Regions from separate parts of the Homo sapiens genome. Here regions 1, 3, 4 and 5 are each linked to region 2. Evidence: promoter capture Hi-C in 16 types of primary human blood cells and fetal thymus (Javierre and others, 2016). All regions are on one chromosome and are shown on one strand. Each heading gives the region's core, a stretch centred on a gene start or on the middle of the fragment in contact. The rest is flanking DNA. Distances are from core to core; before and after follow the strand shown. Region 1 overlaps INTS3 (integrator complex subunit 3). Region 2 holds the start of RAB13 (RAB13, member RAS oncogene family). Region 3 holds the start of SLC27A3 (solute carrier family 27 member 3). Region 4 overlaps INTS3 (integrator complex subunit 3). Region 5 overlaps GATAD2B (GATA zinc finger domain containing 2B).

Region 1 (2,700 bases), core at 28-2,527, 250 kb before region 2:
ACTCTGTCGCCCAGGCTGGAGTGAAGTGGCATGATCTCGGTTCACGGCAACTGCCACCTGCCGGGTTCAAGTGATTCTCCTGCCTCAGGCTCTCGAGTAGCTGGGACTACAGGCGTGTGCCACAATGCCCAGCTAATTTTTGTATTTTTAGTAGAGACAGGGTTTTTTCACCATGTTGGCTAGGATAGTCTTGATCTCTTGACCTCGTGATCCACCCGCCTCGGCCTCCCAAAGTGCTGGGATTACAGGCGTGAGCCACCGCGCCCGGCCGGAGTTTCACTCTTGTTGCCCAGGCTGGAGTGCAATGATGCAATCTCGGCTCACCTCGACCTCTGCCTCCTGGGTTTAAGCAATTCTCCTGCCTCAGCCTCCCGAGTAGCTGGAATTACAGACATGTGCCACCATGCCAGGCTAATTTTTGTAGAGACGGGGTTTCTCCATGTTCGTCAGGCTGGTCTCGAACTCCCCACCTCTGGTGATCCAACCCCCTCGGCCTCCCAAAGTGCTGGGATTACAGGTGTGAACCACCGCACCCAGCTAATTTTTGTATTTTTAGTAGAGACAGGGTTTCACCATATTGGCCAGGCTGGTCTCGAACTCCTGACCTCGGGTGATCTGCCCACCTCAGCCTCCCAAAGTGCTGGGATTACAGGCGTGAGCCACTGCATCTGGCCTAAGTCCCTTTTATTTTATTTTCTTTATTAAAATATATTTTTTTGAGACAGAGTCTCGCTCTGTCGCCCAGGCTGGAGTGCAGTGGCATGATGTCTGCTCACTGCAACCTCTGCCTCCCGGGTTCAAGCAATTCTCCTGCCTCAGTCTCCTCCTCCTGAGTAGCTGGGATTACAGGCGCACACCACCATGCCCGGCTAATTTTTTGTATTTTTAGTAGAGACGGAGTTTCACATGTTGGTCAGGCTGGTCTTAAACTCCTGACCTTGTGATCCACCTGCCTCGGCCTCCCAAAGTGCTGGGATTACAGGTGTGAGCCACCGTGCCCGCCCTATTTTATTTTATTTTTTTGAGACAGGGTCTCGCTCTGTCACCCAGGCTGGAGTGCAATGGCGCGATCTCTGCTCACTGCTGCCTCTGCCTCCCGGGTTCCAGAGATTCTCCTGCCTCAGCCTCCCAGGTAGCTGGGATTACAGGTATGTGCCACTGCGCCTGGCTAATTTTTGCATTTTCAGTAGAGACGGGGTTTCACCGTGTTGGCCAGGCTGGTCTTGAACTCCTGACCTCAGGTGATCTGCCCACCTCGGCCTCCTAAAGTGCTAGGATTAGAGGCATGAGCCACCACGCCTGGCCCTAAGTCTCTTAATATATGGGTTTCCCTCACTTTTTTTCTTGCGATTTATGTGTTAAAGAAATCAGGTCACCTGTTTATGGTTTCCACATTTTAGATTTTGCTGGTTTTATCCTCATGGTGACTTTATAAGTAAACTGGCAGCTAGATCAATGGGCATGATCAGGTTTGAATTGTTAAACTTTTAGGGGCCCAGAAGTACTTCCTAAGTGGTGTTATGACACACTGTTCATTTTTTCTCACCCCTTCCCAGAGATTGGAAAGGTGTATGAGCATTGTGACATCGATGACTGCTGGTGTCTCGGAGAGAGAAGCCAATGATGCCCTCAATGCGTATGTAAGTAGAATGCTGTCCCTGCAGCCACTGCTGCTGCTGTGAAGGTCTTGAAACATGGTCAAAAAGATGGAAAGACTAAGTGGTTGGGGGTAGGGGACTGAAATTCATCAAGTCTTGGCTCCCTGAATCAAATTTCTCAATTCTTCTCTTTTACTGTGGGAGCCTATCTCTTGGAGCCTTGGGCATCTTTCAGTACAGCTTTTTATTTTTATAGCAATGTGGTCTCGCTATGTTGCCCAGGCTGGAATGCAGTGATTGTTCACAGGCATGATTATAGTGCACTATAGCCTTGAACTTCTGGGCTCAAGCGATCCTTCTGCTTCAGCCTCTGGAGTAGTTGGGACTACAGGTGTGCACCACCACACCTGTCGTCCTTATCTCTCTTCTTTTTTTAAAAATCTCTTTTAAGAGAAGGAAATCATCAGATTTAAAAGTTGATTATTCTCCTTTGCATCTTCCTTAGGAGTCCCATGTTTTCTGGGAGAAACTGAGTTTGAGAACTTACTGCCTGTGAGTGACAACTAGTTTGTTTTCCTTTCTCACATTCCAGGTGTGCAAAGGCCTCCCCCAGCATGAAGAAATCTGCCTGGGCCTGTTTACTCTCATCCTCACTGAACCTGCCCAAGCCCAGAAGGTAAGGCACCCTGCTCTGGACCCATAAACCCTCCTCATATATGATCTGGGATATGGTGGAACTTACAGTTTAACTGGGGTAGTATGAAACTCTTCGACCAGAGCTGGATCACCTTGTTCTCCAAATATAGTTACAAGTCCCTTTTTACTCAGTGAATTGGTCATCCTCTGACTAAAGTCCTTTCTCTATCTCCAGATTCTGAAGCTAAATGGCAGTCATGAAAGTGAAAAAACAGAGTTTTAAATTTTAAATTTATGAGGCAAGGCTAAAAGGGTTGGGATTAAATCCAGGGAATAGAAGAGAACAATTGTAACCAAGTCCATGAGAGTTCTTATCCAGAAGAGCATGGCCTGTAGTTTGCAGATTCTGCCATTGGCAGGTGAATAGAAAGCAGGCTTAAAATTTTAGTAGGTAGGATTTAGATGA
Region 2 (2,700 bases), core at 2-2,501:
TCTGAATTCAGTCTCTGTCTCCCCCCAGATATTACTTTCACATTCCTCTTCTCTGTTTTCTTAGAGCCCTCTACTCTTGGTATCCCACCTACCCTCCTAGTAGAGAGTAAGGAAAAAAGTAGCTGAAGCCAGTCTATGTGAATTAACTAGTGGGCCAAACTTGGCACTAGGAAAGTCTGAGGCTAAACAGGATTACTTTTGAGACAATTAGGAAAGAGGGGCATTTTTCCTTTTCCTTTGTAACCAGAATTGTCGTGAGACTCTTCCTGTCTATTTCCCAAGCCAGAGGAGATGAAGAAAGAAGAGAAGGGAGGAGGGGAGACAATGTTCTTCTTAGTAGAAACTTGGGCACCTCCCCCAAGCCTGCTGGGGGCCCCTGGGAGGAGGATGAGTCACCAGGCTGACTCAGAGACCCCAAAAGTCCCCTCATTTCCACGTTCCTCACCAAGCTGGCTGCATATTCATGATCACAGTCCTTGGGCCACCCTCCAGCACACCCAGCCACCTTGTTCCACCCTTCCCAAACCCTTGTTCAGCTGAGGTGCAGGGAGACTGGGGCAGGGAACCTGGGAAGTAGATGGTGAGGTGGGGACACAGTGGGAGAGTTTGAAGCTCAGCAAGACAGAAAGAGGCTAGCATCGGATCGGGAGAAAAAGATGTGGCGGACAGGGATACAGGAAACATGGAGATAGGATCGAGAGAGTTCTAGGTGGTGGGGGTAGGGGAAGAGGGGAACAGAGAAAAATAGAGAAGAGTTCTTGTGGATTTGGGGAGACTAAGGCGATGGTACCAAGAAAATGAGGAGCTGGCAGCAGTTGAAGAGTTACCTGAAGGCCTCAGAGAGGTGAGAGGTTTGGTTACTATACAGAGACATGCACGGGGGAAGGGTCAGAGCCAGGGGTTGAGGGACTAGAATTTAGGAGCCTTACTCTAAGGGGACTGAAAAGTGGGGTCACTAGTAATCCGGGAGCCGGAGAAGGAGGTCACAGGAGAGTCGGGGTCTGGGACATGGCCAGCGGGCTCACCGATGGTGGAGATGTAAGTGTTGTTGAAGTTGTCCTCTGCAAAGCGAATGATCAGACAAGTCTTGCCCACCCCCGAGTCCCCGATCAGCAGCAACTTGAAGAGGTGGTCGTAGGCTTTGGCCATGGCGGACACCGGGGGAGCCGGGGGAGGGGTGGGGAGCGCCCGGCACTGGTAGGCGGGACTGGACGGTTGGCAAACAGAGCGGCACGGAGCCCAGGCCAGGAAGAAGTTTTCCTCCCTCTCCGCCCAGGCTCCGGGAAAGAGGAGAGGCGGCACCCCTCCGGGCTCCACCCCCTGCCCGCCCACCCTTTTGAGCAGGCCAAGGCTGCCAGCCCGGCCTCTGTTCTCTCGGTTTTCCCTTCCTAGCTTAGGCCGGCCTGTCTCTCTCGCTATTTTCCACAGCCTTTCGGTAATTGTAGCTCCCCTCTTAGGACCTTACTCTTCCATTCTGAGGCCAGAGAGGCTGGGGTGAAGGGAAGTAGAGGTTTAACCACGACGACCAGAAATTTTAGAAGAGAAATTTTAGAGGGATTAGGGGAAGAGAACCAAGAGTTTTGGGAATAAGGGTGAAGGTAGGGAGAGCACTAGAAATTGAAAAAAAAAAATGGGGCTGAGTTTTGGAGATGCTATTCAACGAAGCTAGAAGATGAGTTATCATCGGTTTCTGGGGCTGAGTAAAAGGCAGTCCTAGAATTTTACTGTTAGTTGTCCAAGCCCTTAGTTCTATGGGTCCCAATTCACTTTGAAAAAAGCGGGATGCGCAGAAGTAGGTTATTTGTTGAGTCAGTCTGCCCCCTGGTGGAACAGGGTGAAAACGTAAATTAGTTATACAGAATCGGCCCCACCACCCCAACACACACAGCCTACCTAGACACATCCTGGGGCTTCAGTTGGAACGATCTCTCTTATGGGGACCCATGTGTGATTTCTCTGACCAAATAGCTTAGGAAAACAGAGATTTGAACTAAAAATGTCATTCTTTACGTGAATCTTTTAATATGGCCCACTTAAGGTGCAGTACTCCTGAAATCTCACTCAATAGGCCATGAATGTGTAGCCTTGGTAACCAGGAAGCTGAAATATGAACAGCACGGGTATAAAGAAACAAGTTTGCCGGGCGCGGTGGCTCACGCCTGTAATCCCAGCACTTTGGGAGGCCGAGGCGGGCGGATCACGAGGTCAGGAGATCGAGACCATCCTGGCTAACATGGTGAAACCCCATCTCTACTAAAAATACACACACACACACAAAATTAGCCGGGCGTGGTGGCAGGCGACTGTAGTCCTAGCCACTTGGGAGGCTGAGGCAGGAGAATGGCGTGAACCCGGGAGGCAGAGCTTGCAGTGAGCCGAGATTGCGCCACTGCACTCCAGCTTGGGCGACAGAGCCAGACTCCGTCTCAAAAAAAAAAAAAAAAGAAAGAAAGAAAGAGAGTAAAAGAGAAACAAGTTTATCTCTGCCTTTAGAAAAAAATTATTCTTGCTATATGTGTGCTGGGGGTGGAAAAAAATACGAAACACGAAAGAAAGAAAATATTATCTAAGACCTGTTGCGGTGGCTCACACTTGTAATCCCAGCACTTTGGGAGGCCAACGTGAGAGGATCCCTTAAGCCCAGGAGTTCAAGACCAGCTTGGGCAACATAGTGAGACTGCTTCGACAAAAAAAAAAAAA
Region 3 (2,701 bases), core at 130-2,629, 210 kb before region 2:
AATCGTGTCTTAAAAGTTGTTTTTAAATGACAATAAAACAAGCCAGAATGTCTTTTGTGCTGGAGTGTCTGCTGGCATTTGCCCCGTGCATGTATAGCTTGGTCTTGATTTGATTGGCACCCCTACTTGTAACCGCAGAACATCCCCCTTTCCCTTCCTGTTCTGCCCCCACTTTTGTCTAGAGCAGAAGGGACTTGGCTTTGGCCACTACCCATCCTTCCTGCTGCCACTGGAGGTGGGAGCCAGGCACTGATCTGTCTATGCAGAACCATCCCCCGTAGGATGAGGCCTGTCCTTACTCATTTCTCAAGAAACAAGATGCTTCCAAAAGGTCTGTCATCCTCCAGTTGAAGTCTGTGTGCCTACCAAGAATGGCCGGAGGACTCGCTGCTTGACGGGAGGGATGCTCCAGCTTGGTCTCCAGGGACAACTGTACCTGGAGATAAAGTCTGGATACCAGGGAGGGACAGAGATGCTCTTCCTTCCACAGTGTGGCCACTTGCTGGGCCATGTGAACCAGCAGAGGAGAGTTCCTTGGCTATGCTGTTGTTCCCCCGCTGTCCAGGGAGAATGGAGGTGGACTGAGGAGTGAAGTTTGGGCGAACTGCACAGAGCTGCTCCTCTTCACCCCGAAAATTTGTCTTTTTACAGAATCCAGGTTCTCCCCTCCCTCATCACTGCTGTTGCTTCCTTTGAAAGTCTAAACCACTGGAGGCTTCTTTTTCCTTCCTCTCTCCTTCCCCAGTTTCCTCTGTCCCAATTAAAACCAGGATGGAGAGCATTTGCTGGCTGGCCCCAATTATTGTACCCTTGCCCAAAGGGAGGGGCCTCTGTCGTGACCCCTCAGAAATCTGGCAGTCTGGGTTTCCACCTTTCCCCTATTTAACTCTCAGCCCCCACCCATCCCCTGGGGTTGCGGCTGGCAGGCCGGGACTTGCAGAACCAAATGGGCCAGGGGCCAAGTTCATTCTTTTGGGAGAGAGCAATGGTACCTTCCCTTAACGGGAAAACGAGAAATATTGAGGGGAAGATGGACTGCGATCCAAACGCCCTGGCTCTCAGGCCTGGACTCTAGGGCTTAGCCAGATGCCTAAACCGCCCAAGCCGAGAAACAACTTAGAAGACAGACATAACCCTGGGATTCAGGGAAGGCGCGAGCACCGCCCAGGACCTGGTAGGGTGCGAGCCGCGAGCAGTCCGGGAGGGAGCGCGCCTAGGGCGGAGCGTAGGCTGTGGGGGGAGGGCTGGGAGTCCGGGGCCGCCCCACACCCGCACTCCTCCCGGGTTTCTGCTCTCCGCCCGTGTGGAGTGGTGGGGGCCTGGGTGGGAATGGGCGTGTGCCAGCGCACGCGCGCTCCCTGGAAGGAGAAGTCTCAGCTAGAACGAGCGGCCCTAGGTTTTCGGAAGGGAGGATCAGGGATGTTTGCGAGCGGCTGGAACCAGACGGTGCCGATAGAGGAAGCGGGCTCCATGGCTGCCCTCCTGCTGCTGCCCCTGCTGCTGTTGCTACCGCTGCTGCTGCTGAAGCTACACCTCTGGCCGCAGTTGCGCTGGCTTCCGGCGGACTTGGCCTTTGCGGTGCGAGCTCTGTGCTGCAAAAGGGCTCTTCGAGCTCGCGCCCTGGCCGCGGCTGCCGCCGACCCGGAAGGTCCCGAGGGGGGCTGCAGCCTGGCCTGGCGCCTCGCGGAACTGGCCCAGCAGCGCGCCGCGCACACCTTTCTCATTCACGGCTCGCGGCGCTTTAGCTACTCAGAGGCGGAGCGCGAGAGTAACAGGGCTGCACGCGCCTTCCTACGTGCGCTAGGCTGGGACTGGGGACCCGACGGCGGCGACAGCGGCGAGGGGAGCGCTGGAGAAGGCGAGCGGGCAGCGCCGGGAGCCGGAGATGCAGCGGCCGGAAGCGGCGCGGAGTTTGCCGGAGGGGACGGTGCCGCCAGAGGTGGAGGAGCCGCCGCCCCTCTGTCACCTGGAGCAACTGTGGCGCTGCTCCTCCCCGCTGGCCCAGAGTTTCTGTGGCTCTGGTTCGGGCTGGCCAAGGCCGGCCTGCGCACTGCCTTTGTGCCCACCGCCCTGCGCCGGGGCCCCCTGCTGCACTGCCTCCGCAGCTGCGGCGCGCGCGCGCTGGTGCTGGCGCCAGGTAAGGCTGGAGCTCCGAACTGACTAAGGCGGGGCCAGCCACAGAAGGGGGCGTGTCGGAGACCACAGAAAGGCTTGGTCTCATCCCTGGGCCTGGGAAGAAGCCGACTATCCCTTGGGGTTCGAAAGTGGGTGGAGATAGGAGTCTCCGGGTTTGAGAAGGGATGAGGCTGAATCTTTGGTGCCCCAAGGATCCCCAAGGAGTCGAGTTCCAGGCCTCAGACCCAAGATGGAATGTCCATACCCTTCACCCTCATCCAAGAGCAGTGTGGGCTGGGATAGGGAGGGGACATGGGTCATAGGCTCTTCTAGGTAGAGCCAGGGCCCCGGCGTTGTGCTTTCCCACCCTTCTAGAGTTTCTGGAGTCCCTGGAGCCGGACCTGCCCGCCCTGAGAGCCATGGGGCTCCACCTGTGGGCTGCAGGCCCAGGAACCCACCCTGCTGGAATTAGCGATTTGCTGGCTGAAGTGTCCGCTGAAGTGGATGGGCCAGTGCCAGGATACCTCTCTTCCCCCCAGAGCATAACAGACACGTGCCTGTACATCTTCACCTCTGGCACCACGGG
Region 4 (2,700 bases), core at 146-2,645, 230 kb before region 2:
TCCAGGGCCACTTGACCCCTAAGGGCCCTTCTTTCACTCTGGTCTTCCAGAGTGTCTCAGCCTTCACTTCCCTTTGTGTCTCTAGAAATTTACTTACACTCATTATTTTCCATCTGGGTTTGAGATTGAACAGGTTCATCTCCCCCATTACTGCCAACCCCCAAAAGCCTGGGTTTCTGGAGCGTCCCTGCCTTTTTCATTTTTGCTTCCAGAAACCATATACAGCTATTCCTCTTAACTGTTTCTTTCTCAGATTCAGAGCTTGCATTCTTTAGACCCTCACCACCATGCCTTTTTGGCATCAGCTTTGTCTACTTCCCTTCTGTAAATGCAGCGAATCTGCAGTGGAGGCATTTCCTTTCAAATGTTTTCCTCTCTGTGCCTAGGGTGGGAAACTATCCATTCTCTGGCATCTGGCTGCCCCCTGACCTCTTCCAACAGGGTTCCTCCTCCCCCATTTGACTGGGTCCTTGGAATGTGCTGATTCAGATATGACAACAGGCTATTCCTGGAGGGGTGGGGGTCTCTTCTTCAGGAATGTGCCTGGAGAGCCCAGAAAGGGCAGCCAAGGGGTGCTAGTCTGACTGTTGCCTCAGCTCAGGGGTGATGAGTGGACTTCTGAGTCCAAGCATTGTCCCCTATGGGAATCAGAGATATGAACTGCTGGATGTATCAAGAACCCAGGCCTGCCGAGCACGGTGGCTCACGCCTGTAATCCCAGCACTTTGGGAGGTTGAGGTGGGCAGATTGCTTGAGCTCAGGAGTTTGAGACCAGCCTGGGCAACATGGCAAGACCCCATCTCTACAAAAAAATACAAAAATTAGCCAAGTGTGTTGGTGTGCGGCTGTAGTCCCAGGCTGAGGTGAGAGGACCGCTTGAGCCTGGGAGGTAGAGGTTGCAGTGAGCTGAGATCCTGCCACTGCACTCCAGCCTGGGTGACAGAGTCAGACCCTGTCTCAACAACAAAAAGAAAAGAACCCAGGCCTGGCCAGGCATGGTGGCTCTCACCTATAATCCCAATACTTTGGGAGGCTGAGGTGGGAGGATCACTTGAGCCCAGGAGTTCAAGACCAGCCTGGGCAACATGGCAAAACCCATCTCTACCAAAACAAAACAAAACAAAACATAAAGCCACGCATGGTGGTGTGCTCCTGTAGTCCCAGCTACCAAGGAGGCTGAGGCTGGGAGGATCACCCGAGCCTAAGAGGTCAAGGCTGGAGTAAGCCGTGATCATGCCACTGCGCTCCAGCCTGGGTGACATGGCAAGACCCTCATCTCTACAAAAAAATAGAAAAATGAGCCAGGTGAGGTGGTGCGTGCCTGTAGTCCCAGGCTGAGGTGAGAGGCTCTCTCGAGCCTGGGCGGTGGAGGTTGCAGTGAGCTGAGATCATGCCACTGCACTACAGCCTGGGCAACAGAGCAAGACCCTGTCTGGAAAAAAAAAAAAAAAGGTTCGGGGGGTACCTGGCCCAATCCCTGTCCTCTGTCCTCTTGGTTAAGACCATAAGACCACAGAGTATTCACTCATACACAACACAAGGGGGGTTAGCATTTCACCGTGTTTCACTAGGAACTGAATTTCATAGATGAAACAGCCAAGTGGGGCCTGGAATCTGTCTTGGGACTCTGAAATGGAGGGGGGTGATTGATGAAACTAGCCCTCTGTTTCTCCCCTCTCTTTTCCAGTCAAATGTCGCTGCCTCCAATGCCAAGCTGGCTTTGTTTTATGACTGGCTGTTCTTTAGTCCAGACAAGGATAGCATTATGAACATAGGTATGTGACCAAGACCAGGCGGCTCCACTTCCCCATCCCCCTAAGCCCCCACTGCCTTCCTTAGTGATAGCAGTCATAAATCTCAGGGCACCGTGGAGTGGAGGCAGTTTATCTGGGAGCAGCTCTGTTGTTCCTCATCAGTTTTCCCTTGACCTAGAAAGAGAATTGCTTTGATAAGGCTAAGCCATCACTGTACCTCCTCCCCACAGTCTTCAGGATGCATGGTCTTCAGGAGGGGAGGGCATGGGCAAAGGAAAAGGCTGTACCATGTCCTGCTTCTCCTCACCTATTACTTCCCTTCTCAAAGCTGAATGCTGGGAACAAGAAGGGAAATGAGGGCTACAAGCTGTTTCGGGGCCTGTCTGCTCTTGGGTCTGCTCAGTGGAAATGGGGGGAATAGACATAGCACTTCCCAGAGCCATTCATGTATATTGACATCCCATTTTATGGAGATAGAAACAGACTGACTTTAGCCTGGCGTGGTGGCGCACACCTGTAATTCCAGCTGCTGGGGAGGTTGAGGCATGAGATTCGCTTGAACCTGGGAGGCAGAGGCTTCAGTGAGCTGAGATCGTACCATTTGCACTCCAGCCTGGGTGACAGAGCAAGACTCTGTTTCAAAAAAAAAAAAAAAAAAAAAAAAAAGAGAGAGAGAGACTGACTGATGTGAGGGGCTCTTTAATTTCACATCCTCCAGAACCAGCCATCCTGGTCATGCACCACTCCATGAAGCCCCACCCAGCCATCACTGCCACACTCCTGGACTTCATGTGCCGCGTAAGTGTTAGAGCTCTCTTTTCTCCCCATGCCTGGATGAGCAGAATTCAGTGTATCTCCCCTAATCTCCCAGTGAACGGGTCTTCTCGGTATGCCTTGACTGAGAGCAGAAATGGTCATGGGTCCTATCCCCCAAGTTAATAAATGC
Region 5 (2,700 bases), core at 149-2,648, 130 kb before region 2:
TGGCTAGGCTCTAACAAGCCTAGCATTCTTTTCTTACCAGGTGAACAGAAATCATCTGCTAAAGCCAGAAACTTTAAAGCTCTTAATCCAGCTGGAAATAACTATAATTGAGGGCCTTTTTACTAGCTACTTGCTTCCCAATTTAGGGTTGCCTAGCAGGGTTAATTTCAACATAACGAAAGGTGTTAACTGGCTGGCCGCATCATTCACTGGTGACAGGGGCAAGTTTAATGAGTTTTGTGCTCAGATCGCTGGGCCTCCTGGCTGCTCTTGTCCATCTCTGCACTTTGGTCCTAAGCATTCTGAGACTCAGTCAGTTGAGGGTGAAAGGGACCTACCAGCCAGTTGAGGGGCATGTTGTTAACAAGAAATCCATCAAGTCATCTAAAGATTCCTTCATTTTCTGCAGCTGCCCCTTGCTAGAAGTGGAGGCTGTCAGACACTTCCTCAAAGGAGGCAGCATTGCAGAACACTGAGTAGATGTCGCCTGCCATCACCCTCATATGCTTGGCCTGACCTTGGATGTTCTGTGGTCATCATGGATGTTGGACAGAAGGCCGTGGCATGTGGTCTGGAGCTGCTAAGTCAGGTTGCAGGCAATAGCAAGAGTACGTGACTCGATGTGCTCTGCACAGTGGGACTCATCAGTATCATCGTATCCAATATTCCTTTTCCACTCCACCCATGAGAGCTAGAGCTTATCCTGAGCATCCTGAATTTTCTGATTGGCACTATGCACACTCTTCCTGGCAAATTCAATCAAGTGAACAGAAGAACGGAGCTGAGAAATGGTCTCTTGGCTTTTTTGCTTAGCTTCTTTAACCCTGCTGAGAGCCTGCTCATACGAAGTGAAGCTTGGTAGACAGGGAGTGAAGCTTGGTAGACAGGGATCCCAGTCTAACATAACAACTTGGCTTCTGAACCATATCATATCCTTCAACTTTTTTTGCTTCTTTTTCTAGTTCTTCCCCAGTGAGAGGGAGGTACTGTCCTACCAAGAGCTCTGATTTGGTGAGCGCATGTTCCAAGCCACTGCTCATGAGCTGCATTATCTGACTTCCTAAGCTTGTGTTAATGCTGCCACTGACACAGACTTGGGTCTTCTCCACAGTGCCAGTCACTACCCCTTTGGTCTTGTCCATCAACCCTGTGATGAATCCTTGGCCCCAGTCACAGTAGTCGTCACAGCATCTTTTGCCCCAGTCACAGCACCTTTGGCATTGGCAACAACCTGAGTTGATGGCTGATTCAGAATAGGCAGTCTCTCCTCAATCCTGTCTAGCCCCTTACAGACACGGATATTGGCAACTGCAATTTGCAGCTCTAGCTTCTGGATGATGGGCAGAGCACACTGGTCATGGCCACCGAGGTGATGGTCTTCACACCCTTCCCTGCCATCTCACACACAGACTTCAAGTAGGACACTGGTCCTTTGTACTGACATGGGCTGAGGACATGGGGTCATATGTGGAGCTCATCAAGGGCAGGTTGACCACCCGAGTCATCACACTCAGTTGTGGATCAACTGCAACAGATGCCATTTTTCTTCCTGGAGAAATAAATCAACGGACGGCAGTGAAGCGCCTATTTTTTAATATACATATATTTTTTGCTACTGAGTTGTATGAGTTCCTTACATATGTTGGAGATTAACCCCTTATCAAATATATGGTTCACAAACATTTCCTCACATTTTGTAGATTGCCTTTCCATTCTGCTGTTTGCTGTGCAGAAGCTTTTTAGGTTGATGCAGTTCCACTTGCTTTTGTTGCCTGTGTTTTTGATGTCATATCCACGAAATCATTGCCAAGACCAATGTCATAATGCTTTTTCCCTGTTTTCTTCTTATGAGTTTTATAGTTTCAGGTCTTATGTTTAACTCTTTAATCCATTTTGGGTTGATTTTTGTGTACAGTACAAGATAATTTCATTATTTTGCTGTGGATATCCACTTTTCCCAACAACATTTGTTGGAGGGACTATCCTTGCCCTATTGATCCTTTCCTTATTGTATATTCTTGAGTCCAAACATAAATTTTCAGGAGACATTCCCATCTACCCCCAGCCAGAGCCCAAGCTGAGACACAGAAGTTTCCTTGTTTCCTCAAACTAGTAGATGGAATTTTCTGTGGTCCCTTCCTTTCTCTTGAGTATGAACCTTCAAGGCTCCCTGCTTTATATAGAGATTTGCATTTCTAACTCTGTTCCATACAGGCCTAAGGCTCATGGACATTAAAACGAAGCCTTTAGGCCAGGCACGGTGGCTCACACCTGTAATCCCAGCACTTTGGGAGGCTGAAACGGGCGGATCGTGAGGTCAGGAGATCGAGACCGTCCTGGCTAACATGGTAAAACCCCGTCTCTACTAAAAATACAAAAAAATTAGCTGGGCTTGGTGGTGGGCACCTGTAGTCCCAGCTACTCGGGAGGCTGAGAGAGGAGAATGGTGTGAACCCGGGAGGTGGAGCTTGCAGTGAGCCGAGATCTTGCCACTGCACTCCAGCCTGGGCGACAGAGCAAGACTCCGTCTCAAAAAACAAACAAACAAACAAACAAAAACCAAGCCTTTCAGTAACTGAGACTAGGCAAAGCACCCAGAAATACCACAGCATTAAGTAACATGCATACTGCTCATTTTCAGTTCCTCTTTCATTTGCAGTCCCTGAGAATTTTCCTTAATTCTTTCAGGCTCAACTAGCT

What was found. The method cuts DNA at HindIII sites, captures the fragments that hold promoters and counts their contacts. A CHiCAGO score of 5 or more calls a contact.
Region 1: a contact is called between a fragment that was not itself captured here and the fragment with the promoter of RAB13 in region 2, in 15 of 17 cell types (total B cells, M0 macrophages, naive CD8 T cells and 12 more). The highest score is 13.2, in total B cells.
Region 3: a contact is called between the fragment with the promoter of SLC27A3 here and the fragment with the promoter of RAB13 in region 2, in 17 of 17 cell types (neutrophils, M2 macrophages, naive CD8 T cells and 14 more). The highest score is 24.6, in neutrophils.
Region 4: a contact is called between a fragment that was not itself captured here and the fragment with the promoter of RAB13 in region 2, in 17 of 17 cell types (neutrophils, total CD8 T cells, non-activated CD4 T cells and 14 more). The highest score is 10.6, in neutrophils.
Region 5: a contact is called between a fragment that was not itself captured here and the fragment with the promoter of RAB13 in region 2, in 16 of 17 cell types (total B cells, naive B cells, monocytes and 13 more). The highest score is 16.8, in total B cells.

What each region holds. Positions count from the first base shown.
Region 1 is chr1:153,739,095-153,741,794 of GRCh38, forward strand. INTS3 (integrator complex subunit 3) reads left to right here. Exons shown (of 30, transcript NM_023015.5): 2 at 1,557-1,640; 3 at 2,191-2,274. Among named protein-coding and RNA genes, the nearest start is that of INTS3, 12 kb to the left of the region's middle. The HindIII fragment of the contact is 7,056 bases long and covers 1-2,700 here.
Region 2 is chr1:153,985,088-153,987,787 of GRCh38, forward strand. RAB13 (RAB13, member RAS oncogene family) reads right to left here and starts at 1,252. Exons shown (of 8, transcript NM_002870.5): 1 at 1,026-1,252. The coding sequence starts at 1,149. RefSeq lists enhancers at 311-540, 854-1,355 and a silencer at 1,167-1,336. The HindIII fragment of the contact is 17,219 bases long and covers 1-2,700 here.
Region 3 is chr1:153,774,028-153,776,728 of GRCh38, forward strand. It overlaps SLC27A3 (solute carrier family 27 member 3), which reads left to right and starts at 1,380. Exons shown (of 10, transcript NM_024330.4): 1 at 1,380-2,137; 2 at 2,491-2,700. The coding sequence starts at 1,471. It overlaps INTS3 (integrator complex subunit 3), which reads left to right. Exons shown (of 30, transcript NM_023015.5): 30 at 1-781. RefSeq lists an enhancer at 1,781-2,447 and a silencer at 1,816-2,007. The HindIII fragment of the contact is 7,576 bases long and covers 1-2,701 here.
Region 4 is chr1:153,757,839-153,760,538 of GRCh38, forward strand. INTS3 (integrator complex subunit 3) reads left to right here. Exons shown (of 30, transcript NM_023015.5): 11 at 1,688-1,775; 12 at 2,473-2,552. Among named protein-coding and RNA genes, the nearest start is that of SLC27A3, 16 kb to the right of the region's middle. The HindIII fragment of the contact is 8,511 bases long and covers 1-2,700 here.
Region 5 is chr1:153,851,872-153,854,571 of GRCh38, forward strand. The region is part of intron 1 of GATAD2B (GATA zinc finger domain containing 2B); the gene reads right to left. It also overlaps the pseudogene LOC645965. Among named protein-coding and RNA genes, the nearest start is that of GATAD2B, 70 kb to the right of the region's middle. The HindIII fragment of the contact is 670 bases long and covers 1,064-1,733 here.